Regions from separate parts of the Homo sapiens genome. Here all the other regions are linked to region 1. Evidence: promoter capture Hi-C in 16 types of primary human blood cells and fetal thymus (Javierre and others, 2016). All regions are on one chromosome and are shown on one strand. The core of a region is centred on a gene start or on the middle of the fragment in contact, and the rest is flanking DNA. Distances in the headings are between cores, read along the strand shown. Region 1 holds the start of METTL14 (methyltransferase 14, N6-adenosine-methyltransferase non-catalytic subunit). Region 2 holds the start of LOC105377392 (a long non-coding RNA gene). Region 3 holds the start of LOC124900766 (a long non-coding RNA gene). Region 4 overlaps PRSS12 (serine protease 12). Region 5 overlaps SYNPO2 (synaptopodin 2).

Region 1 (5,408 bases), core at 903-3,402:
GGAGAGAGATTTCAAAATTATATCCCCTTCTTTGTACAAACTGCAACAACCCTCTGCCCAACTCCAACAGTTTTGTAAATATTACATGGAAGTACATATCTGCATCAGTACAGTTCCAGGCAGGAAAACAAATAATTAAAAGTATTTTAAACAGACGCCATTCACTATGGAGAAATAGTTAAGCAGATATTGAAGGCTAGAAGAGCAAAAAGGGAGAAGTAAGATTAAATCAGAAATTTTAAACTGCAGGATGGCTACCAGTCCTTGAGCTGGTGGAACAGAAGGTAGAAGTAGTAGTATCATAGCACAAGAGCAAACTCACTCACTGTTAAGGGTGTCACTTTCTTAAGGTAAGGAAAGGAGGGGCTGCTCCAACTGGCTCTAGACTTTGTAAGGGACATAGTCATCGCTCTAGATGCCAGAAGCAGAGAGTAAAATAAATGGACAATAGCTTTCCCATGTTCCACCTTTTGATTTCCTGCCTGTGCCTCCTGTGGGCAGAGTCTTACAGGAAGCCATCTAACAAGGAAGGCTGGGAAATGTAGTTTGTGGACTCCCTGCCTAGCCATCATCTCGAAGCAGAGGGTAGGTGAGTATGGGGTTCAAAGATTACAAGCAAGTAACCTGCATAGCAACTTATCAGGAAAAAGAAAAATCCTCCATTAGACAGTAAACTCATAAAGAAAAACCGACTTTAGTTTTTAATCTTTGACAGACTTTATAGACTCTAGGGCCTATCACAGTGCTTGCCATATAAAATGCTCAATCAATATCAACAGATATTTAAGTGAATAATTGCCTATTCTCACCATTGGTAAAATTTAAATCAGTATTCAACTTAAATGATTGCCAGATAATACAACTGATTTTTAAAGAAATACACTTTAACTCATATGGACATAAATATTTTACAGTATCCAAGTAGTGCTGACATTACTCAAGGAATTGTTTAGGACTACTTGTTCAAAATTGTCTTTCAGACCTAGTTCTTCGGAAATACATTATAATTATTTCTATAAAAGTGGGCATGACTAAGTAGAATCTAGTCTTGCCCACTTTTGGCCCAGCCTGACTCAACTGGTTTTGATCTGGATGACTTAATATTATTTCTGAAAATTAAATCTACTCTGAAAGAACAGACTTATTACTAATTTTGTTAAGTACTTACCGCGATTTCCAATTAAACTTGAGGCAACATGATGTCTTACTCCACTTCCGCCACTGTAGGCTTGAAATAAGATGGCAAGTGTGGTGAATAATAATGGTAATAACTCAAATAAGACTTTGGCCTTTGCTGCCATCCTATGAAGACAGAATCACCACCCCCCAGCCCTCACCCCTCACCCCCGCAATCCGAGTAATTTCAGGAAGCTATTTGTTTCCTTATCCTTGGGTTATTTTCAGTTAAGACAAATGTACAAGCACAAAAAGGAGTCTCTTAGCTTCTGACTCCTAGGACATAAACCAAGACACGCTTTACTATCACATACTCATTTCCCTAAAGGGAAGAAGCCAAAAAATGCATACTATAGTAAAATGGGAAACATTTCAAGGGACAGTAAGGTGTGGGGAAGAGTGGGCAGATGTTGTGGCTGTTACCTGCGTGAAGGTAAATAAAATATTAACAATAACAAGCACTTCTACACCGCTATGTGCAAGGTGCTATTTATCCTTTCAATCACAGCTCTGTGAGGTAGACACTTATGACTCCCATTTTACAGATGACAAAACTGAGGCTCACGAAGGTGGTTAACTAGCCAAGGCCACTCGTCTAGGAAGTGAGAGGCCAAGGTTCAATCCTAGGCAATCTGGCTTAAGTTTGTGTTCTGTTAAAAAAAAAAAAATTAAAGGTTATCTGGCAATTTTTTAAACGTCAGGACTGTCATCTGTGGAATCAATTGAAAAGGGAATCAACACTTCAGAAACTGTAATACACCAAGGGAACCTGCTATCCTGGGAAAGAGAGATAAAGGAGAAGTCAGCTGACTGTCCTCCTTCAGACTAGCTCAGACCACCCCAACCTGCGAGGGCCCTGGAGACCCCTGTGGCGCAACAGATCCCTTACTGGGTCCCTTCCAAGTGGCGTCACATAGCAAGCGTCCAGAAGGAGGCGGGACTTCCGGGCCAAGCGAGCCAATTCCGGCCGCGCCGGAAGTCTCTACTGAGGAAAGCTATGAGGATACTCTGTTCGTAAGCTCCCGGTGAATTTTGTTCCACAGACTCGGAAGAAAGGTTGGATAAGAGTTCACTGGAGATTGACAAGTACTCGGGATAGTGAAAAGCCGGAGTTGGAACATGGATAGCCGCTTGCAGGAGATCCGGGAGCGGCAGAAGTTACGGCGACAGCTCCTCGCGCAGCAGGTCCGCGGCCCTGGTGTCCCCTGTGGGAGGGATCGAGAATGCGAGTGCGCGGCCGCCTCCTCCCTCCACACCCCGCCTTTTTCTGTCCCTTCTCTACCTGCCGCTGTTAAGGCCTTTCTGGTCCTGCGATCTTGATCCCTGGTTCTGCCTTTGTAGTTCTCAATTTTCGCGGTGTCCCGAATGTTTTTCCAGTTCCTTCCGCGGTCTTTGTGGTGCTAAACCGAATGCCAGGATTAGCCTTTAAGCTTTGTGGAACTCCCACCGAGTGTCTGGCATGTTCACGCCAGGATGAGTGTCATGTTATCCCCTACATTTCTCTTCACTATTAAATGGTCATCTATTTCTTTCTTTTCTTCGTCGTCAGCCCCAAATTCTTGAGATTGTGGTTTCATTATGAAATACGTTTACAGTATTTTCTTTGACATCTTTCTGAAGACAACACTGGAAGTAGCCTGAGTGTAAATTTTAGATTCTGCATCTTATATAGAGTATCCTTGTCACATCCACAGTTAATATTTGAAATCTTACTCTGTGTTAGTCACAATAATCTCCTGAAACAGGTATTATTACCTTCACTTATCAAGTAATGAAAAAGGCTCCATACGTTAAGGAATTTTACTCCTGGTCGCTCACTTCTCTGCTGGGAAATAGAACCTAGGTTTGTCTCCCCAAAGCTTGTCTTCTAAACCATTGTCCTTCACTTCTTTCTTGTGTATGAGTAAGTTAACATTTGCTGATTAGTAGAGTGCACATGCAGAAAATACAGATTGTGCACAGTTCTACTTAAAATCGAGGCTGTATTTTCCATTCTACTATTCAGATCAGTAAAAGTGATAGGAGCAATGCTCATAGAGTGTAATTAGTCATCTTGCAGTTATTTTTCAGTAATGAAACTTGGTTTTAGTAAATGGACTTCTGAAACCTATCCTCTTTATGGTCTGATGAACAGATTTGTGGAATATGGCTAAAACCGTGGAAACTTGGAGTCAGATTTGTTCCTTTGTTCCTTATCCCGCTGGCATTACGATCTTGGGCAAATCAAGTATCCTTTCTAAGTCTTCTTTTCGCCAACTTCTTTTATCGTATTATCTTCAAAAATGTTAAGTAGCTCTTTGTTGCTACCACAGAAGACGTTTTACTCCTTAATATTGAATTCAAACTTCTATTTGACTCAATATACATTCATAGGACAATTATTTGTTTAGTGTTTTACACTCAGCAGATGCCAGGGGCTCTACCTTTTAAAGTCTTTTATGAATTGGTTGCACTCTACTTAGCCAGCCTTATAACCATTATTTGTTTACATTTGTTTGTATTTTGCAAAATTTTCCAAACTGCCAAACAAAATTTATGTTACCATTTTAAGGTAGTAAAGTTCAGCCTTGTGTCTATAAATAGTAAGACTTAGCTTGAGTAAAACTGGATCGATTTTTATTAGAGCATAGAATAAATAAGTTATATAAGCTGATGCCTACAAAATGTTTAACATGGTACCCACAACCCTGTGCAAACACTGTCTTATCTGCCTTTTTTAGTTATTGCTATTGCAGGTTGAATATCTCTTATCTGAAATGCTTGGGCCAGAAGTGTTTTGGATTTCAGATTTTTTTCAGGATTTGGAATATTTGCATATTACTTACTGGTTGAGCATGCCAAATACCAAAACTCAAAATCGGAATGCTTCAGTGACCATTTCCTTTGAATGTCATGTCAGTACTCAAAAAGTTCCAGATTTTGGAGCGTTTTGGATTTTGGATTTTCAGATTTGGAATGCTCATTTTATATTAAATCGTGTGTATTGCTTCACAGGAAATTGGCTAAAGTGTCTTATTTTCAAATACAGATGGTTCCAGACTTACTATCATTTGACTTAACAATTGACTTTATGATGGTTTGAGAGTGATAGGCATCCAGGCTGCTCATTGACTTACGGTGGAGTTGTGTTCTGATAAACCCATCATAAGTGGAAAATATTGTAACTTGAAAACACACTTACAACGTTTATTTTGAAACAGATTTACTTTCAACTTACAATGGGTTTATCAGGACATAACCTCATCATAAATCAAGGAGCCGCTGTATAACTGAAAGCATAAAATGTTTTGCCAGCTGTCAAACTCATCTTAATTAATGCGGTTTTTTTCCAGAGTTTTTCCAGTTTGTCTTGCAAGCTGATTAATTCATTGTTTTGTGTGTGTGTGTGTGTGTGTGAATTAAGGTGTTTTTGTTTTTTAAGTATTTAATGTATTAAATGCTGCTACAAATGCCCAGAAAGGCTATCCAGTGCATTGCAATCTAATTTCTGATTTTGTCTTTTCTCAGTTGGGAGCTGAAAGTGCCGACAGCATTGGTGCCGTGTTAAATAGCAAAGATGAGCAGAGAGAAATTGCTGAAACAAGAGAAACTTGCAGGTCAGTCAGATAATTCTTTTTTTTTTTTTTTTTGAGACAGGGTTTCACTCTGTTGCTTAGGCTGGATAGGCTGGAGTACAGTAGCATGATTATGGCTCACTGCAGCCTTGACTCCTGGGCTCAAGTGGTACACCTGCCTTGGCCTCCCAAAGTGCTGAGATTACAGATATGAGCCACTGTGCCGAGGCAGGTGGATCACTTGAGCCCAGGAAGTCGGGAGTTCGAGGCCAGTCTGGCCAACATGGTGAAATCCCATCTCTACTAAAAATACAAAAATTAGCCAGACATGGTGGCGGGCTCCTGTAATCCCCGCTACTCGGGAGCCTTAGGCAGTAGAATTGCTTGAAACCGGGAGGCGGAGATTGTAGTGAGCTGAGCCAAGATTGTGCCACTGCACTGCAGCCTGGGAGACAGAGTGAGACTCCGTCTCAAAAAAAAAAAAAAAATGTGAAAGGATTACTGTTTTAATAAATAACCCTAGGTAGGTATGCAGTGTATTAAGAAAAGCATCAAAATAATGATTTTAGACACAATGGTTTTTATTGTCAGTTCATTAATTATAAAATATTTATTTTCTGAGGATAGTAAGTTCCCATTTGTAAAGTACTTAGAAAATGGAATGTTAGACTAAGAATT
Region 2 (5,408 bases), core at 1,821-4,320, 420 kb before region 1:
TCCCCAACGAGCGCCGCCCCCTGCTCCACCGCGCCCAGTCCCATCGACCGCCCAAGGGCTGAGGAGTACGGGCGCACTACGCGGGACTGGCGGGCAGCTCCACCTGCGGTCCAGGTACAGGATCCACTGGGTGAAGTCAGCTGGACTCCTGAGTCTAGTGGGGACTTGGAGAACCTTTCTGTCTAGCTAAGGGATTGTAAATACACCAATCAGCGCCCTGTGTCTAGCTCAAGGTTTGTAAACACACCAATCAGCACCCTGTGTCTAGCTCAAGGTTTGTAAACACACCAATCAGCACCCTGTGTCTAGCTCAAGGTTTGTAAATGCACCAATCAGTGCTCTGTGTCTAGCTAATCTAGTAGGGACTTGGAGAACTTTTGTGTCTAGCTCAAGGATTGTAAACGCACCAGTCAGCACCCTGTCAAAACGGACCAATCAGCTCTCTGTAAAATGGACCGATCAGCAGGATGTGAGTGGGGCCAGATAAGGGAATAAAAGCAGACTGCCCTAGCCAGCAGTGGCAGCCTGCTTGTTTGGGTCTTCTTCCACGCTGTGGAAGCTTTGTTCTTTTGCTCTTTGCAGTTACTCTTACTGCTGCTCACTCTTTGAGTCCACACTGTGTTTATGAGCTGTAACTCTCACCATGAAGGTCTGCAGCTTCACTCCTGAAACCAGCAAGACCACGAACCCACCAGAAGGAAAAAACAAGCTGCGAGACCAGGAAGAAACTCCGAACACATCCGAACATCAGAAGGAACAAACTCTGCACACGCTGCCTTTAAGAACTGTAACACCCACCGGGAGGGTCCGTGGCTTTGTTCTTGAAGTCAGTGAGACCAAGAACCCACCAAGTCCGGACATAATCCTTTTACAAATTAAATCAAAGCACTTTAATTCCTGCAATAGCTCTACTTTTTATGCTACGGTCCTTATAGTGGCCTGCAAGGCCTTACATGATGTGGTATTCATCACCTTTCTAACCGCAGCTCCTCTTTTCAAACTCTCATTCTGCAACAGTTGCACTGGCTCCCTTGCTGACTATCTTATTTAAGACATTCATGTTAACATGCCCACAAATATCAACGTGGCTAACTTCTACACTGTAGTTCAGTCTTTGCTCAGATGTCATTTTCTCAATAAGGCCTACCCTGACAACCTTACATAAAATTTCACCCCTTCCTCCCTTCCCTGACTCCTGATTCCTATTACTCCGAACTAATCTTTTTTGAACCATAGCACTTAAAATCTTATAACTAATTCTGTAGTTTACCAATTTTATTAGATCTTTTGTCTTCTCCTACTTGAATAAGCTTCTCGAAAGCAAACTATTTGTCTTTTCTTTCATCAATATATCCCCACATCGATGGGTCTAGTCTCTGAAATAATAAGTGCTCAATAAATACTTGTTGAATTAATTTCACAATAAGTAACTGGAAAAGACATGACAGTTTTAACATACATATGTTCTTATATTTAAGTGCTAGAAAAAAGTATAACTTTTCATAAAAATCAATAAATTCGATTAACAAAAATATATATTTCCCCAATCATACAAAGACTTAAAACTGTCTTCTAAATAACAAAAAATAAATTCAATTTTAAATAATAATTAAAATTAGCAAAATAATTATTAAATGTAGGACAAAAAAACAAAACCTCTAACTTTTAAATGATAATTACCAGATAATTCTTATAAGTTATCCTAACAATAATACCAAAAGGAAGATACTGCTGGTTTCCTTCTACAGATGAGGAAACAGGTTTGGAATGGATAGATAATTTTCCCAAGGTCACACAAGTAGCAAAGCTCAGACTTATTTTATACCTAGTATCATTTTTCTCCCTTTACACACAACACCAGTTAAGAGCATGGGCTCTGAGCCAGTGAGACTACATTCAAATCCACTTCAAACCTTAGGTTAATTACATTATTTCTCTGTGCCTCAATCTATTCATCTGTAAATTAGAGACAATAATTGTATAGCGCTCATACAATTGTTAGGATTAAATGAGTTAATGAGCACATAAGTACTCAATAAACATTAGTTATCACCATTACTACTATCTCCCTTAGAGACTGTAAATAATTGTAGTCAGGTGCAGTGGCTCACACCTGTAATCCCAGCACTTTGGAAGGCTGAGGTGAGCAGATCACCTGAAGTCAGGAGTTGGAGACCAGCCTATCCAACATGGCGAAATCCCGTCTCTACTAAAAGTACAAAAATTAGCCAGGCGTGGTGGCGTACGCCTGTAATCCCAGCTACTTGGGAGGCTGGGGCAGGAGAATCACTTGAACTCTGGAGACGGAGGTTGCAGTAAGCCGAAATCTGCCACTGCACTCCAGCCTGAGCGTCAGAACAAGACTCTCAAAAAAAAAAAAAAGATACTGTAAATAATTATTTTCAGAACCCTTTTGTGTTATTTTATATAATTTACTTTCTTAGTCCTTTTCAGTAAGTTCTGTTCAGTGCTATAAAGAATGGTGGGTATTTCAAAATTCGTATGGCTTTTATCAAATTTAAGTCCTCAATTGCAGAGATTTCTTTCTAGACCTTCTGTTTTCTAAGAAATACTGCCCATTTACATAAATTATCATCCTGATAAAAGGGTTTTAAATTAGAGAAATACAAAAGTCACTTATCTGGTTCTATTCTACTTAGTTTTCTATAGTTTTACTTATATAATTAAGAAATAACTACTAACACGTCTTACATATTCAGTTGAAGGTTTTTTTAATGATTGTTCATTTGGAGATGAAATATATTTATTTTTCTCTCTATAGTGTAAGTATGACATTTATTTTAAACTTTTTGTTTGAAATTTTACAAAGATGGCAGAAAACAAATCTATAGACCAATCATATTCCTGAATAAAGAGGCACAATTCTCAACGCAATGTTAGCATGCAGAATCCAGAAACAGGTTACAGGTAGAATACACGGTGACAGAGTGAACTTTAAAGAGTGAATATGGAAAGGCTGGTTGAGCACTGTCCAGGAAGGTGGAAATTAATCTATTCATTTATGACTTTTTAAATAGACCTTTTGAGGGTGTATGATTAGCTACTGTAAAACTCACCCAGGTGAAGTGTACATCTCATAACTGCTGAGTCATTAATGGAATTGAATAGCCATCATGGCGATCTGATGTCAGAAGATCTCTGACACCCAGATAGAAGGCTGATAGACGGGGTTCCTCATGCCCATTTGAAGATAAGCCCTGCCCCCAACCCAGCCCCAGTCAACCATTGATCTGTTTTCTGTCACTGTAAATTTGCCTTTTTTGAACATTTCATATCAATAGATTCATACAGTATGTAGTCTTTTGTGTCTGGCCTCTTTTCACTTAGTGACATGGTTCTGAGTTTCATCTATAGCATGTATCAGCCATAGCATGTTTTTTTAAAAAAACTTTTATGTTAAATTCAGGGGTATATGTGCAAGATGTGCAGGTTTGTTACAAAGGTAAATGTGTTTCATGGGAGTTTGTTGTACAGATTATTTCATCACCCAGGTACTAAGCCTACTACCCAATAGTAATTTTTCCTGATCCTCTCTCTCCTCCCACCCTCCGCCCTCAGGTAGGCCCAGTGTGTACTGTTCTTCTCTATGTGTCTATGTGCTCTCATCATTTAACTTAAATTGGATTTATTCTTATATAGCATCTGAAGTCTTTTATTTTACGTTTTTGATTTTCTATTTTTTTGGAGATGCAGTCTCACTCTGTCACCCAGGCTGCAGTGCAGTGGCACAATCTCGGCTCACTGCAACCTCCACCTCCCAGGTTCAAGTGATTCTCGTGACTCAGCCTCCTGAGTAGCTGGGATTACAGGCACCTGCCACCACGCCTGGCTAATTTTTGTATTTTTTGGTAGAGACAGTGAAGACCTATTCCAGTTATAAATACTAACTAATAGGAATTAGTTTCAAAGTTTGCCATAGAATTTTTCTCTCTGAAATGATTTCCATTATAAAATTTGAAATATAGTCCTATTGCAGCGGGGAGACTTAATTTAAACTTTTTGGCAAAGAGAGAGGTAAGATGTGCCTGAGGCCAAAAGAGTTAGTCGACTTTGCCGTAATATACTAAGCTACATTCAAAAAAGTTTGCCAGTTTTGCTTAAATGTACTACCCTGCATTCATTTTTCCTTCTGTACATTATGTATAATTTCCCAGAATTCTTTTTCACTTTTATCATCCTGGCTTCCTCATTCAACAAACGTTTCATTGAGCATGTTCCAAAGTACTACTGCAGGTAAGATGAATATGACTACATTCTTGCCCTCCAGTAGACTGGGCAGAAATATTTTATTTCTCCAACAGAATCATTGTCTAGTTTGATATACAACACATTAACAGTGTATTAACTACTTCAGACAGTAGGAAATGAATTAAATCTCTAATTGATGAATTCAGTATGTTAAAAATCTGTATATCAAGTTCACATATTAAAAAGGTCTGGTGTATTCCAATGGTATGTTTAGAATATGCATCTGGAGAAAGTTGTTCCTTTCTGGTAGAACCTGAAGTTTTCAATATTCACTGTAGACATTCATCATATAAAACTAGAGTCCAGAGGATAGGCTTTTAGAGATACTAGATATGCTGACATTTTCATGTTATTATCCACATATACATTAATACATGCATGCACAATGAACAAATGTATTTAATTCAAAGGGCTTTAAACACATACCTAAATAATAAGGTAACAAATTCAAAGGGATTTAAACATATACCTAAATAATAGTGTAACAGAGCCATCTAGTGGCCACATAAAAACTGTTGTTTCATGTGATTTTGTTTCGTTCCATCAAGTTTTACATAAACGTAAGCTTATCTTCCCACTAATACAGATATTTATAATGCTTATGGATAATGGGCCAAAGTAATTTGGAGCTGGGGTACTAGAGTAAATGTTTGACATCCTAAGACATCTGTAATCTATATTGTGTGTAGAAAAAGGAGAATTTTAACAAGTGATCATTAAATTTTCAAATTATCTTAATTGATATGGGATGAAAGCATTAGATGTTTTTAAATTGTTAGTTTATGAATACTCCAAAACAAGATCTTCTCTTTTAATATGCCATATTAAATGTTAAAATAAATAACACTCTTATTTTGCATAAAGGCAAGTAAGCCCAAAAAAAAAAAAAAAGCCTCACTAGGAAATAGACTAAAGCAAGTACCACAAGCCATCTTCGAAAGAAAGAAAAAGTCAAGCTTTTGAGATGTTAAATATTTAATGAAACATAAGTGCAGAATCTCACTGACGTGCAAGCTTCTACAACCAAGTCAGGCGTTCACTCTTAAAGTGCTGGAGGCCAGTTTGAGATCATAGAACACATAGGCAATCCAATTTTTCAGGCTAAACCATAAAAGGCTCACAATGTTGCTTGCCAAACT
Region 3 (5,408 bases), core at 1,229-3,728, 400 kb before region 1:
CTTACTGAAATTAAAAAGAGATCTTATCAATTACCATATTATAACAAAACTATCAAAAAATGTTTCTATTTCCTATAAAAACCCCATGAAAATCCATGGGGTTCAGATCCACCGTCAGACTTGGGAACCACTGAACCAAAGACTCAAAAGTGTGGGCATAACTCCTGCCCGTACATGCCCAGAACTTCACTGGATGAAGTAAGCATCCTAAGAGATTACTAATAGAAACCAAAATGCAAAAAGCATACATGTTCCATACATACACTGTGTTCCTGGATCAAGTAGATTTTGGCAGGTAAACCCCAGAATTTGTATGCTCACCAATCAGCAGTTTATATTAAACTGAGAATAAAAATATTTACCTAACAAAAAGGCGAACAGTACCATTCTTGTCAAAATGAAGTTGTTAGTTCATATGTATATATGGAATACACACACACACACATCTTTTTTTTCTTTTTTGAGACAAGGGTTCACTCTGTTGCCCAGGCTGGAGCGCAGTGGTGCGATCACGGCTTACTGCGAGCCTTGATCTCCTAGGCTCAAGCCATCCTCCTGCCTTAGCCACTCAAGCAGCCGGGACCACAAGTGCATGCCACCATGCTCACTAATTTTCAAAAATTATTTTTTGTAGAGATAGGGTCTCACTATGTTGCCTTGGTTGGCCTCAAACTCCTGGGCTCAAGCGATCTGCCTGCCTTGGCCTCCTGAAGTGCTGAGATTATAGGTACTGCACCCGGCCAAGTACCTATACTTTTAAAGTTGTCCTAATTTAGGGAAATGTACCAGCTAAACCTAAGCATGGAGTCTCACACTCCTTTAACTCCAATTATTCTTAGAATATATTTTGTGCTTAGAATTTGAAGAGCATCTGACACAAGATTGGAATAGTTTTCCAACCAAATTTTTGTCTTCTAGTGTCACCTCTCCTAGTGGGTATGATTATATGCTTTAGGGATAACACTTTGGCTGAAGTACTCAATATGTGTGTGGACTTCAGAAGTATCTATTATGGTTCTAGGCTTCTCAAGACAACATATAAAGCAATCCTCTTTTGCAATGTATTTTAAGGTCTTTCTAGTTGAACTTTTGTTATTTTGATAGACTTTATTTTATCCAAAAATGCTTCTAAAACAAACATTTCAGGTTTTGGCTGACACATCATTCAGTTGTTTGCTTTGCTGAAATGCCTTCAACTCCCCCTCAAATAAAAATTGGATGAAATTCCCAGACAAGTTTGAGCAAGAGAGGATCTGAGACACAGTAGTTTATTAAAATCCAATGTCCAAGTTTCTCTGAGACTCTGAGGCTAAAGTAAACAACAACAACAACAAATTACTAGAATTAAAAGTAGAATTAATTCAGGTTGCAGGGTCATATTCTTTGTGTTTCTTCTCTACATGGATTCGTCTCTACAGGAAAACAGTATTTTACATCAGGCCATGCACATCTGCTACTACTAAAATCTGTTTTTCCTCTCTGGATGAAACTCAAAAAGTAGTTGACTGAAGTTGTTTATGTAAATGGTTCCAATTGCTTACAGAGAAGTAAACCTCAGTAGAATCTTGCGTTAGCCCTTACACATACACAAATACTATGTGTACTACAGAAATAGTTTTAGCATGATTGGTGATATGTGTATTACCAAAGGCTATGTTCCTAAGAGCTCTGCTCTACCATATACTATGTCATGATGAAACATATATTAGGCATCTGACACACTGTGTTCTTAAAAAGTAAGTCCCATTACCTCTGTGGCCATCTCTCTAATTAGAAATATCTAGTCATTTCTAACAATTTCCAGCTACTATTGCATTTCTAGGGCAAAAAGTCAATGAGATAAAGTCAGGTAAAGTTATATTCTTGAACAAGTCCACTTTGGAGTAAAATTACAGAAATAAGAAAGCCCTTGTTTCAGGTACATTTATTCCTGCAAAATCAGGTTTGTTATCAGAATAAGCAATTAAAAGAAATTAATATTCAGGAATTTTTGTCTCAGTTATATTGCTGCACCACAATAGACACGCAAGGCAATTTCATGGTACTTGTAGTTACAATCTAGAATAGAAAGCAAAAATTAGCAATTTATATTATGTAAGATTCACAAGCCAGTTACAAAAGAACTTAATTTAACAAAGTTTCCAATTCAAATTGCCAACAGGCTACTGCATTCCATGTGTATTGCATTAACATTAAGAAAAATGTGAAAAATGAGATAGCCTTTAAATAGTGATTTACCAACTACTTCAGGTGCGCTTGTTACATTGGCATGGAAATGTGTGAAAGCTATGAGGGAATAAGAGTTGAGTTACGAAAACTTTGCCAGCCTTCACATAAAGCACCCTTAAAGAGACTACTCCACATGAAATGAGTGTAACTGAGGCTAGCGGCATTATGGCATTAATATGGCAGAGTGGAATTATGGCATTTTGATCTCATCCTCATCAGGCCACCATTCCTAGATTATTCTGATACAAAGATTATATAAAAGAGTGACTATGCTATGAAGGCAAACAAATAAACATAAAAAGTTCTAATCCTGTATAATTAAATAACACAAATGGTAATAACGATCTATGCCTTATTGTCCAGAAATGGCTGGTCAAGAACATTGGCCTACATCACTGCAAGAATTAGGTACCAAGGAAGCTCTGATGAACAAGAAATCTTTAGGTATACAGAAGCCCAGTAGTTGATAAAGCAGTGGAAATGTCAAAAGGGGGTGAGGGGAAGCTAATTTCAAAATATGAAATCCCGTTCCCCTACCTATAGGCCTTATATTAAACTAAGGTATCTTTCACCTGGCATCTAAAAGGACAGGAACCTCTCAGAGCCCTACTACATTGCTTCTAGATTACAGTCTCTATTTTGCAAATTTCAGTGTTTCTGATGATGAAAGGAGGATTTGTTTTAAGCAAAAGTCCCTAAATCTAGGAAAACAAAATTTGGAGCTTGTTCTAATCACTAGTAACTAGCTGTATGCCTTTTAATAAACTTACATCAATAAAGATGTGAGCTGTAGCCTCCTTAGGCGCTTCAAACAGGAAGTCTATGAAATCCGGCAAAGGTAAAAGCCAAGTCAGAAGGATATATAACACATTTGCAAAGCAGTTTTTTCCCTACTCACATTAAAAGAATCTTGTATTATAGCCAAAGCATATCAAAATGCTGCATATCATAATCTGCTCCTCTGCTCTTTAATCAACTATTTTTATCTTAAACTGTGCAAATAATGAGAAGAAATTCCAAAGGACATATGGAAGGAATTATCTGTTGATCTCAGTTTGAAAATATCATCATCCTCTAAAAAGCCCAACATTCTTAAATAATTCACTATCTGGCAACTGAGCCACCACTTTCATCATGTAACAATCATTCAGAGTATCTACTATGTGCCAAGTCATACAGTAGACACTTGGTGTATAAACACAAATGAGAAATGAGACGATTACTGACTTTAAGCAATAATCAAGACAGAGCAGGCCAAAGGAGAAATAATGACATGTAAACAAATAAATCCAAAAATAACAACAACAAAAAAAAGAGCCCATCCAGGGAACCCAAAAGTTAAAGTGTTTAACCTCAAGTGCAACTTTTGAGCAATCTTCCTACTTTAATACTTTAAGCCTTGAACTCCTATGACTGTAACTTTTGGCTGAAATTTGAAAGACAAGAAATCTTGAATAACAGGAAGATAACAGATTATTTTGCTTAAATTCAAAGCCCCAAAATAGGCTTCTTCAAGTTCTTTGCAATTTTATACCTTATTCTTCTCCATTAGTAAGTGAAATAAAATAATCCTCAGTTCCCTACTTTCACTAATATAGTCTTCAATTCTTGCCTTTAAACTCCAACATAAAAATAACCAATATTTGTTTTGAATTTTAGAGGTTATAAAATACTTTGACATACTTTGCAGATCATTTGTTTCTCACTGTGGAACATTATTATCTTCATTTTACAGATGTAAAATGACGTAACCTGAGACTCCAAGAGGTTAAATAATTTCTGCAAAGTTAAACAATTAACAATTGGAAGAGCTAGAATTGTAAACCTGGTCTTGGTGGCCAGATCCAAGTCTCCTTCTGTTGTATTGTACCAGGCTCTACTGATTTCTAACAGTCTCTCTACCTTCACTCCCTCCTTTCCTTTTCACCTATTTCTATTATTACAATAATCTTATAACTGGTCTCCCTCCAGTATAAAAGTATAAAATTAGGTCCCTTCCTCACAGTCCCTCCAGTTCCTACTTAAATCATTTGGTAACACAGACCAATTTGCCAGAAAAAGGCATGTAAGTACAAACATATACAAAGATTTTTTTAATATAATGTCAAGCCCATTCACAGACGCCCCCCTAGATTAATAACTTTGCCTTACCCCCTCAGATATATGCCACAAATCTCCAAATGACTCATCTCCTGAAACTCTTCCTTGATCATCTTTCAAGGCTCAAAACTTTAGTGGTTTCCCACTACCTAGTAAATGAAAGAGGAATCCATAACCCTGGCATCCCAGGCCATTCTCGTCTCTCTAAGTTCACTAACAAATCCCAGATCCTGTATTCTAGGTAATAATTGCCATCCCTCAAACATAGCTTTTGCTTTCTCACCACAGTACTCTAAACACTACATCTTATCTACCACCAGCCTCTACCTTCACATGAACCTAAGCTCTCTCTGCTTAAACAGACTCCTTAACAGAACTCACTTTTCCTCCCACATATAGCCCATTCCATCTTTGAACTGTCCTCGTGTCAAAGAAATAAAAAATAAACAACAGAAAACTCTTTTTTGTGTTAAAGCAAAAATTATCTTATCTCCCTTTAACATTTGTGGTATCTGAAGCAAAAGGCAACAAATCTAATCCAGTCCCACACAATCTTTCCTTTCTGCTTGCCCTTCTTAGAGCACCATGTCCTTTTCTCATTGTGTGGCACACAGAACTGAGCACAGTTCTCTGTTTGATGGACACAGTGCTTTTCTCCCTGACAGTTGCTTGAGCACAGAAAGACAGAATAGCAAGGTTCTTCACTGCTTTGTCTGGACACCATTCGTCAGTGCTACCCAAGACTGAATTAATTTCATGGGCAACCATATTGTATTGCTGAGTCTTATTAAAGTTGCAGGACGCTAAAACCAGTGAGTTTTTCACTTGTGCTGTATTTCAGCCAAATTTCCTGGAACTAAAGGCAGCATTTTATTTCATCCTTATTCCATATTGCTTGTTAGAATCAGCCTATCAAGATATTTTGCCAGGTGAGGGGAGGGAACTTGGAGGACCAGTCAATAAGTGCAGCAAACCACGATGACACGCGTATACCTATGTAACAAACCTGCACGTTCTGCACATGTATCCTAGTTTTTTTTTTAGAAGAAATTTTTAAAAATTGGTCTTCCCATATATGA
Region 4 (5,408 bases), core at 1,791-4,290, 380 kb before region 1:
TTACTTGTATTGTCTCTCCTTTTTCTTAGGCAAAATTGCATAAGATTGTTGAGATTGTTGTTTATTAACCTTCTTTAAAAATAAAAATAATTGCTGATAATGTATAGGTATAATGTAAAGAAATTTGAAATTCAAATCGGCATAATTTGAAGACAATAAAAAATTAATAGAATTTGGAAACAAAAATTCCAGATGATTCCCAGAAGTTTCAGAGGTGAGAATGGGTGGAGGTAGAAAGTAAACAACAATATGTTAAATGTCTTTATCTTTTTCAGGAAGGGGAAGTTACAGATAATAATTTTTGAAATTATTAAGAAAGTATGTTTCAGTATGTTTGCTAAAAATTTAAAGAGAACTTCCAGAAAAACAATAAGAATGTTGAATTTCTAGACCACTGAGAAAAGATGAAAATTGAAAATTGAATTAATCATGAAAATCAAAAAACAGATGATTACACAAAAAACAGAAAATAAAGCATGATAAATAACATAAAAGTAGATGGCAGGTAGAAGTAGACATACAGAAAGTAAAATTTAACTCACTTAAAGAAACCAAAAGGATCATTTCTTAGCAACTGATCAACTTGCACAAACTAAAAAAAAGCACCATTTTAGATATATCAATAAGTAGAAATTAGAGAACATTTTAACAAATAACAGCACATGATTAAATTCTCATTGATATAGTGAAATCTAATACATTTTCTTTTGACTACTCTTTCTTTAAACAATTAAGGACTCTGCCATCCATAGAAAAAAGGGAAAGGCTTCTCACTGGTTTACTGAATCTAGTAATTCATAGCTGAAAATTTCAATGACACAACACTTTCTGATAATTAGTCTTTAAACTGGATGTCAAGTGCTCCTGGTAGATAATAACTTTCCAAGGGATACACAGGCTGTAAGTGAATCAATTTTTATATCCTCAAATTTCACATATATTATTTCTTAAAAATAATCTTGCTGCTATCAAGATCAAACTTCTCTTTCAAAATTTCTCTTCTCTCACTTCACAAAAAGCATATCTTGCACTCACTCCAAATCCTACCGCAGTGCATTCCTCCAAAGTTTGAAAGCCTCTAAAGGGGACAAAAGAAAAATTCAAAATATATGATAGCAATGAAGCTTCCTTAATCCAAGCAACACAAACCCAACCCATTGGTCTAATTAAGAAATGAGAGCTTTGGTAAACTTTTATTTTCTATGTTTAATAATTATTTAATAATTTTATTAAATATTTTGCTGTTTATTATCAGTTGTATACTAGAAATTATAAATTCCAGAGACACCTGAAACTTGTTAGCATAATTTCTCTCTCTCCATGTACGTGTGTGTGTGTATCTGTATATATGCATACATGTGTATATGTATGTGTGTATGTGTGCATATATGTGTGTGTATATATACATATACACACATATTTTTAAGGCATAATAACATTGAGATTCCGTGGGGGAAGAAAATTTAAAATACAACTTCAAGGAGAAAAAAAAACTGTAAAATTTCTGGTCAAAGAAGTATTTTTTGTTCATGTATTTTTTAAAATGGATAGCTGAATCAAATTACTATATTTATATTTCACTGGATATAATTAAGAGTGGTATAACTGTTTTATATTCAAATGTCATACAAATATACCAGAAATTAAGTCCTTTGCAGCTATTTAAATGTAAAATAGATATCAGATACACTTAATTTTAGATCTCTATTAAAGCAGTGAGAATATACAATTTTTAAAATTTTTTTAAGGATTAATACGCTAACAAACATGTTCAAAAACAATGCTATATTGGAACATATGCTACTGGATCCACATAAAGTGTAAATATAATGGAATTTCCGTCATGACTACTTAGTCTATCTCAATGAATTTAACTGATCTCAACACATTCTCTATCAACAATCTACGAACAATATGCTCATATGCTAGACTTTGTCAGACATTATGTAATGCATCAATAAATAATGCCTTTTACTTTCTGTTCACTTTAAGCATATCTGTATTAGTTACCATTCACATTTCCTTTTTTATTATCTCATTTCTGTCTTTCCCATTATGAAAAGGCTTTCTAATACCATTTTGATTCTCAGTATTTCCAAGGACTAATCCTCATGCATCATAGAACTGGCTGGAGGACAGATCTCTGAAATTCCTATTTATGAGGCTCAAATCTTATAACAGCTTCAAAGTTTCCTGGATTGATTTCTACAAATAAGTCCTTTATTAAAGATTTTTTGTGATTCAAAATAGACATGATGAAAAAAAGATCCTCGGCACTAGTCACATACCTGTTTATAATTTATATATATATATATATATACACACACACACACACATATATATATATACTGAAAATATACATATATGTTCTTATATGAAATCCAATTTCCCTTCAGTGGGAAATTATAAAAATATTCAAGTATATTTAATCAAATAGCTAAACAATTCTCATTTAAATACTATTTGATGGCAAATTGCAGATTATGTTATCCAATTTGTTATAGTAACATTAAATTACTGAATTACTTGTAAGACTATTTAAAATGCAATTATAAAGTCTTTTGATGCTTTTCTTGATTGATAAGTATTACAGAAATATTGAAAGCTGCAACAAACTTTGTTCACTTAATCTAGAGTGTGTTTCTCATCTAAAATCACTTCTTTTTTAGCTTTAATTAGGTATAATCAATATAAAAAATCTTCTTCAGTTTGGACATATGCATGTATCTGTGATACCATTACCACAACCAAGGTGCTAAATATATCCATCACCTCCAAAAATTTCCTTGTGTTCTTTTCTGAGGTTTGTTTGTTTGTTTTGTTATGTTCTGTTTCTGTTTTCATTTGGCTTTGGTAAGAACACAAATAAGATCTATACCCTCAACATATTTTGAAGTATATAGTACCATATTGTTAACTATAGGTACTGTATTGTACGGTAGATCTCTAGAACTTATTCATCTTGCATGACAGGAACTTTATACCCATTGAAAAATAATTTCCCATTTTCTTCTCCTCCCAACCCCTGATAACCACCATTCTATTTCTGCTTCCATAAGTTTGACTATTTTCGATATCTCATATAAGTGGAATCATGTAGTATTTGTCTTTCAGTAACTGTATATATATATACACATACATACCACATTTTCTTCATCCATTCATTTAGGCTGTTTCCACATCTTGGCTATTGCAAATAATGCTGCAATGAACATGGGAGTGCAGATATTTCTTTGACATCCTAATTTCAATTATTTTGGCCATATACCCAGAAATGGGATATCTAGATCATATGGTAGTTCTACTTTTAACTTTTTGAGGAACTGTTTTCCATACTGTTTCCATATTACTTTCCACAGTGGCTGTACCATTCTACATTCCCACCAACAGTGTGCATAAGGGTTTCAGTTTCTCCACATCCTCACCAACACTTGTTATCCTTTGTTGTTTTGACCATAGCCATTCTAACATGAGGCTAAATTCACTTTTGAGTTAAATGTTAAATGGACTAAATGATTGTGTTAGGCCATTCTTCCATTGCCATAAAGAAATACCTGTGACTAGGTAATTGATAAAGAAAAGAGGTTTAATTGGCTCATAGTTCTACAGGCTTTACAGGAAGCATGGGGCTGGCATCTGCTTGGCTTCTGCTGATGCCCAGGGAGTTTTCAATCATGGCAGAAGGTGAAGGGGGAACAGGCAAGTCACACAGCAACAGTAGCAGCAGAAAGCGGGGTGGGAGGGTGCCACACACTTTTAAACAACCAGATCTCATGTGAACTCAGGGCATGAGCTCATTTATCAGCAAGGGATGGCCTAAGCCATTCATGAGGGATCTGCCCCCATGATCCAAACACCTCCTACCAGATCCCACCTCCAATATTATGGATTACATCTCAACATGAGATTTGGGTGGGGACAAATATCCAAACTATATCAATGATGATAAATAAAAAGTAATGAACAATTTAGAAAGAAATCCAAGTAATAACACACGACTACATGTGTGTTGATGATGCTTGATGAATATGCCTAGAAAATTTTTCTCTCCTTAAACTTAGCTGAGACACACAATTTGAAGGTCAACTTTGGTGCCAATCTTCCCCTTTGTATTTCCAAAGGTAATACTAGGTTTCCTGGATCACTTCCACCAAGACAATAAAATTAAAATATGGCCAAGAAACCAGTCTCAAAGAGCAATATCTTTTAATGGCTGATTTTGGGTGAGGAAATGTACTGGGAATGTAATGCAAGAACAAGAATAATTTTTTTTTCAAATGGAAAAAGGAGTGATAGAAACACAGTGAGCAAAAGAAGTTTAAAATTAACCACTGACCAAATTCACTTTCACATCTAATGTAGACTCTCCCTACTTTACTGCCCCATATTTTGAAAATTGAAAATTTATATCACAAATGAAGGATTAATTGGCTGTAGGACAACTGGAATTGCAACTGGGTCCAAAACTGAGCCATAAATTGAAGTAGTATCGAGTAACCAGAAACAACTTTGATTTTGAAGTTTACCCCCAACATGTGAACTTTTATTAAAACAGAAATGCTTTTTAAAATAAACATGTATTCTTTATAGAAAATAACCATATGAAGTGTTCAATATTTAAAATGAACACAGATATATAATTAAGGATATATTTTTAAATCCAAATTACTATTAGTAATCTACTCTGAGCTAGGCAATTTATATACATATTATCTTAAATTTATAACCCTCTGAATTGTAACATTTTCCATATTTTTGTTACTTCAAAATCATTACTTAGGGTGCTTTCACAGTCATTCATGACATATGCAGAGCCAGTAAAATTTTAAATTACCCAGCTGAGGTCTAACCAACAGGAGATGATCTGCCTTCTTTTTTGCTCCTCTCACACTGTAAACAAGTGTCCTTTTCACATTCTATTTAGTGCCATGTTCTTATTGTAACTCACGCCTGAGGGAAGCTTATCTAATGCATGCATTTTCTCTCTAAGTCACACCACAACCTTTCTGCACTTAGGAACACTACACAGCACTTCGGTACTATAAATGGGGGCCATTTTAAACAGTGAAGTCATCAGCAAAGCAAGCACAGAAATGCAAAAAAAAAAAAATTGGCACCACACAGACTGTAAAAGAGGACAACTGTTAACAAGTATGAAAGCTGAAACAAGAAGGGAGAGCAGTGACCTCAGCTCTAGGAGCAATGGCTCAGCATTTGCTAATTCAGTGTCCACAGTGACTTTATAACTATCAAGAAAAATGAGAACCAACAGTAATTTCAATAACTCTAGAGTCCCTTAAAAGGCTACAGTGTTGAAACATCAATCACAGAGAAAAGGTTAACTGACAGAAGCTGATACAAGCTGTATTATGACTAGTCAGAGTTATTAGACTATTTTGTTATTAGAT
Region 5 (5,408 bases), core at 1,374-3,873, 320 kb after region 1:
TGGCATAAATCAAACCTATATTTCATAATACTCTGTTCATCATTTATCAGCCAACAACTTCACTCTTGGGAACCAAATCCACATTGCACTCATCAGCGGCACCAGAGTCAAGCCACCTTGGCCTTGGTCTTCATGTTTATGTCTTAGCTCCTAGTGCCAGGAGTGTCATGCCACATTTCCTACAATCACATCCTTTCCTATTTTAATATGGATTTTAATGTTTTTTTAACCACTGATATTGGCGAACCGACAAAACATTTACTTATACACTTATATGTGAACAACATCATCTCATACCTTTGCTGCATGTATTTTGTTTTAAGGAATATGAACATGTCAAGTGTATATGTGTTAATAGAGGAATATATGAGAATGGATCACACATGTAGACTCATGAAGAATTTGTAAGGTACATTATTATAAGATACATTATTATTTTCCAGAGGAGGAAGGGAATACAGACAAATAAATGAAACACAAATGGGAGACTAAATTTTGCAGCAGAGAGTGCAACAGCTTTCCATTTCTGAGAGGCTTTGTTCAGGAACTCGGCCATATTCATCTTCATAGATTTCATAGATTTCATAGTACAGTAACTTGCACATATTAGGTGCTTAATACTTACTTGTTGGATTAAGTCAATCCTGATGAGTTTAGTGCCCTTCTCACTGTGGGTACTGGTGATTATCTGTGATTATCAAGACATGTCATATATCCAGTCTTTTAAGATGGGAGTCCAATTGCCAGTTCTTCCTGGGTCTATCCTGGGAAAAGCAAGCCTAGAACACTGCCTGCTGCTGGAGGTACTCAGTACTAAGTGAATGAATGAATACCTTCAAAACTGAGGTGAAATGAGCAGTGGACATTTGCGAGCACACTGGTTTAAATTGCACAGGCTTTTTTTTTTTTTTCCTTGGCAAAGCAAGCTTTGAATGAAATGTCTTAGCAAATATAAGTGAGATTAAATAGTAACAGAAATTATGATATGTTATTATAAAAGATGAATGCCAGAACATTTATTTGAAAAGAAAGAGTAGGTGTTTGATGTTTTCATTGAAATCCAAATGGTTTTGTAGCAAGATGAGGAGACTCAACATTACTTACATTTTGTTTTACAAACAATTTTTAAGATTATAAAAGTTCATCTCAAGAAATTAACATTTATTTCCTTTAAAAGCATAATTTATATATGATACTGTGTAGTTGCTTGGGTTAAGTAAAATTTTTTTTTTGCTGAACTTTAACTCTTACTAAACATTTTAATATATTTATGTGCCATTTAATTGCTCCATTTCCTTCAAATATTAGAAGATGCCATATTATTTACAACTAATTTAATTAATGTGGAGATCGTTTTTTCTATAAAGCAAGCACTTAGTAATTTCATCTCTTTGCTTCAGGTTTATGTAATAATAGAGAGGAAATGGAAATTTCATCATATTTGGTTTCAAATGAAAATCAGGAACAAATGAAAACCTCTTGTCTTCAGCATGTTAAATTTTGTGATCAGGTAGAGAATTAATAAAAATTATAGTTAAGATAAACCAGAATTTCAATGTGTTGTTACATTCCATTGTACATCTAGCACAAATATTATCAAATGCTTCGTAAAGATTTTTGTATGCTTGCAATTGATACAAAATATTTTTGAAGAGCTAATTATTGGCAAGCATGATCTGCCTAGGGATAAAATTGGGCTATAGTTTTTACACATAGGTAGTCAGTTTTCAGCAGCACACCAGCTTACATTAAGTTTGCACTTCTAACCCAGAGAGTCTTGGCTTTGGAACACCTTTGCTTTCAAAACAATAAGAAGCATATAGTTTAAATAAAAGAACATGCCAAAAAATCTTAAAATAATGATCATAGACTTATCTTCTAGTCTCCTTGAAAAATATGATTATTTGAAGCTCAATAGAGTTAATAATATGGTTCCTTGTAGGAAAGTCACTCAGGCACTCAATAAAGATCTGCCTGTTTCACACACACATACACACACACATAAACATAATTGATTGCCCCCCAAAATATTTTCCTAAAGTATTTTATAGAAAATAACACCATGTTCTGTCAAATAATGGAACTCAGAATCACCCGGGGAAGCTCATTAAAAGTGCAGATACCCAGGTTCCCGCTTCTAAGAACTGGCTTCCATGGAAGGCAGGGGAATAAAAGCAGGGTTCTGTACTTTGAAAGTCCTCCCTAAGAAAGCCTGATATTCGCCAGAAGTTATTAACCACCATCTTATAATAGAAGGCCATTAATGGTTTATGAGCTTTTAGTACAGCCCAGTCTCAAACACTAGTGTGTATAGAAATCACCTGGGGATCTCGTTAAAATGAAGATGTTGATTTAGTAAGTCTGGGTTGGGGGCTGAGATTCTGTGCTTCTCACAAGCCTCCAGGTGATTCCATTGCTGATGGTCTGTGAGCCTCACCTTGAGTAGCAAGGATGGGTTTTTCTCCATAACCATTTTGTAAGGTTACACCTGTCAGCTCACCTACATAGTAATTGTTCTGAGTACTCTATTAGATACTATAGTATTCGTGGGAGGTGGCATTGTGTTGTGAAAAAATAGGTCATCCAGTAAGCATTGACTGAGTGTTTACTATGTGTTAGGCTCTATGACTTTGCCTCACTGGCTTCCCTTGCCCCTCTGCATGAGGCTAACATTAATTTGTCTTTTAGGAGTGTATTAGTCTGTTTTCACACTGCTGATAAAGACATACCCGAGACTGGGAATAAAAAGAGGTTTAATTGGACTTACAGTTCCATATGGCTAGGAAGGCCTCAGAATCATGGTGGGAGGCAAAAGGTACTTCTTATGTGGCAGCGGCAAGAGAAAATGAGGAAGATGCAAAAGCAGAAACCCCTGACAAAACCATCAGATACAGTGAGACTTATTCACTACCATGAGAACAATATGGGGGAACTACCCCCATGACTCACATTATTTCCCACCAGGTCCCCCCCACAACATGTGGGAATTATGGTAGTACAATTCAAGATGAGATTTGGGTGGGAACACAGAGCCAAACCATGTCAAGGAGAAACTGTCTCCTTTGAGAAGCCTTGCCTGCTATGTGCTATGTGCTATGCACTTCCATTGTATACTGTGTTCACTTTGATAATATAAATTATCATGTTGGGTTGTAATTATCTACTCTCTTACACATGTTAGAATATGAGACTCTCTAGGGCATTATTCATTATTTCAATTCAGAGCCCATAACACTGTTTGTCACATTAAAGACAATCAGTTAATATATAGTATAATTAACTAATTAATCAAAAGAGGTAACATAAGCAAATCTTTAAGCTACAACTCCATTTCCTTACATAAGTTCAACACAGACCCCTGGCTGAGTGAAGAGAGAGAGTAGCTGAGGGTTCTTGCCTGCCTCTGCAAGGCTCTCCTTAGCTAGCTCTGGCCCAGGATCTTTTTGGCAAGATGGTGACATTCATGCAGGCTCTCCTCAATCTGAAATAAATAGGAGAACTATTAGTCAATCGCAGCAGGGAGCATGACTGGCTTTAAAACGCATTAACAGAACACTTACATGGACACCAAGGGCACTTGGCATGACCCTGATTTCCCTTCTTGAAGTACAGGATTTGGAAATCACTGCCACAGCCCAGTTCAGCTCACGTGGACCTGCCAAGACCAGCAGAGTGCACAGGAGGTCCAGCAGAGTGCACAGGAGGTGCAGCAGCACCTGGGGTAGTGCCTCTGCTCCAGCGCCTCACTCTACTTCGATGCATATGTTTATCTCCATAAATTGCAACCAAGCCTACACAGTGATCATTTTTAAGTTTTACTGATTGCCTTATGACCTTACCTCTCTCATGGGGCCAGAAGAATGATGGCGAAATACAGTGATTGGCAGGAGCAGCTGTGGAGTTGCTTATTGAGTCATGGTGGGACCGTTGCCTTTGCTGGGGAAGACTCAGGTATCTCTGATGTCCAACATTCAATGGGAGCAAATCTTTTCCACAAATGCCCTGGGAATTCTCTATGTATTACAATGCTTTTGTAATAATCTCATACCCTAAAAGAGACTATGAAAAAAGAATAAATAGAAAGTAAGAGGTTTAGGAGTGCCTGTTGACCCAGGTATTAAGAAAAGTTGATACAGACATTTGGGTAAAATTCAATCTTCTCATATTGTCATTTATTCGGCACATATTTATTGCAGGTCTACTATGTGCAAGACACATGTCAGGTTGTGGGAGATACAAAGATCTTTGTGTTGCAATCTTAGCTCTCAAGGAATTTCAACTAGCCAGTAGTTTGGAAGCTAAATGGGAGCTATTTCCAAAGTAAGCTTGATATAGTAGCTTGGCAAAGATTTTCTTCTCCCCTTCCTCTCCTTTCTATAGACTTTTTTTTTTTTTTTTTTTTGAGATGGAGTCTCACTCTATCACCCAGCTTGGAGTGCAGTGGAGCCATCTTGGCTCACTGCAACCTCCACATCCCGGATTCAAGTAATTCTCCTGCCTCAGCCTTCTGAGTAGCTAGGATTACAGGTACCTGCCACCACGTCTGGCTAATTTTTGTATTTTCAGTAGAGATGGGGTTTCACCATGTTGGCCAGGCTGGTCTTGAACTCCTGACCTCAAGTGATCTGCCTGCCTCAGCCTCCCAAAGTTCTGGGATTATAGGCATGAACCACTGTGCCCAGCCACCTCTCTATAGACTGAATCTACAGAACTGGGCTGAAACTGTTTGCCTCTCCATTCCTCCTGCCGGCATCACCAGAGTGATCTTTAGCCTGAATTGGTTGTTGGTTTTAGTCTTGCTCTTTTAGCACATGGTTCCTTTTTTTTCCCCCTTTTCTTTTTTTTTTTTTTTTTTATTTTACTTTAAGTTCTGGGATACATGTGCAGAACGTGCAGGTTTGTTACATAGGTATACATGTGTCATGGTGGTTTGCTGCACCTATCAACCTGTCATCTAGGCTTTAAGCCCTGCATGGATTAGGTATTTGTCCTAATGCTCTCCCTCCCCTTGCCCACTTGACTCCAACAGGTTCCGGTGTGTGATGTTTCCCCTCCTGTGTCCATGTGTTCTCATTGTTCAACTCCCACTTATGAGTGAGAACATGTGGTTTTGGTTTTCCATTCCTCTATTAGTTTGCTGACAATGGTGGTTTCCAGCTTCATCCACGTCCCTTCAAAGGACATTAACTCCTTCTTTTTTAGGGTTGCATAGTATTCCACGGTGTATATGTGCCACATTTTCTTTACCAGTCTATCACTGATGGGCACTTGGGTTGGTTCCAAGTCTTTACTACTGTAAATGGCAGCACATTGTTCTTAAAAGGCAGCATTTTCTGGTTTCTGTCAGCCTTTGTTCCCTAGGTTGGACCTTACTTCTACTTGCTTTTGCATTGCCTTCAGTGGAACTT

What was found. Contacts are between HindIII fragments. The CHiCAGO score rates a contact against its expected background, and 5 or more counts as called.
Region 2: a contact is called between a fragment that was not itself captured here and the fragment with the promoter of METTL14 in region 1, in 9 of 17 cell types (total B cells, naive CD8 T cells, monocytes and 6 more). The highest score is 10.0, in total B cells.
Region 3: a contact is called between a fragment that was not itself captured here and the fragment with the promoter of METTL14 in region 1, in 3 of 17 cell types (total CD8 T cells, total B cells and fetal thymus). The highest score is 7.7, in total CD8 T cells.
Region 4: a contact is called between a fragment that was not itself captured here and the fragment with the promoter of METTL14 in region 1, in 1 of 17 cell types (total B cells). The highest score is 5.2, in total B cells.
Region 5: a fragment that was not itself captured here is called in contact with the fragment with the promoter of METTL14 in region 1 in 1 of 17 cell types (monocytes); the score reaches 5.3 in monocytes.

What each region holds. Positions count from the first base shown.
Region 1 is chr4:118,683,240-118,688,647 of GRCh38, forward strand. It overlaps METTL14 (methyltransferase 14, N6-adenosine-methyltransferase non-catalytic subunit), which reads left to right and starts at 2,153. Exons shown (of 11, transcript NM_020961.4): 1 at 2,153-2,361; 2 at 4,684-4,772. The coding sequence starts at 2,296. It overlaps METTL14-DT (METTL14 divergent transcript), which reads right to left and starts at 2,102. Exons shown (of 7, transcript NR_125930.1): 1 at 2,066-2,102; 2 at 1,169-1,228. RefSeq lists enhancers at 2,112-2,371, 2,552-2,691. The HindIII fragment of the contact is 9,570 bases long and covers 1-2,604 here.
Region 2 is chr4:118,265,869-118,271,276 of GRCh38, forward strand. It overlaps LOC105377392 (a long non-coding RNA gene), which reads right to left and starts at 165. Exons shown (of 3, transcript XR_939113.3): 1 at 1-165. LOC124900765 (a long non-coding RNA gene) reads left to right here and starts at 83. Exons shown (of 2, transcript XR_007058244.1): 1 at 83-114; 2 at 583-903. The HindIII fragment of the contact is 3,524 bases long and covers 1,309-4,832 here.
Region 3 is chr4:118,286,701-118,292,108 of GRCh38, forward strand. The region is part of intron 11 of PRSS12 (serine protease 12); the gene reads right to left. LOC124900766 (a long non-coding RNA gene) reads right to left here and starts at 5,317. Exons shown (of 2, transcript XR_007058245.1): 1 at 3,000-5,317; 2 at 1,253-2,058. The HindIII fragment of the contact is 8,460 bases long and covers 1-5,408 here.
Region 4 is chr4:118,302,802-118,308,209 of GRCh38, forward strand. The region is part of intron 8 of PRSS12 (serine protease 12); the gene reads right to left. Among named protein-coding and RNA genes, the nearest start is that of SNORA24, 26 kb to the left of the region's middle. The HindIII fragment of the contact is 3,836 bases long and covers 1,123-4,958 here.
Region 5 is chr4:119,007,539-119,012,946 of GRCh38, forward strand. The region is part of intron 1 of SYNPO2 (synaptopodin 2); the gene reads left to right. Among named protein-coding and RNA genes, the nearest start is that of SYNPO2-AS1, 26 kb to the left of the region's middle. The HindIII fragment of the contact is 3,399 bases long and covers 925-4,323 here.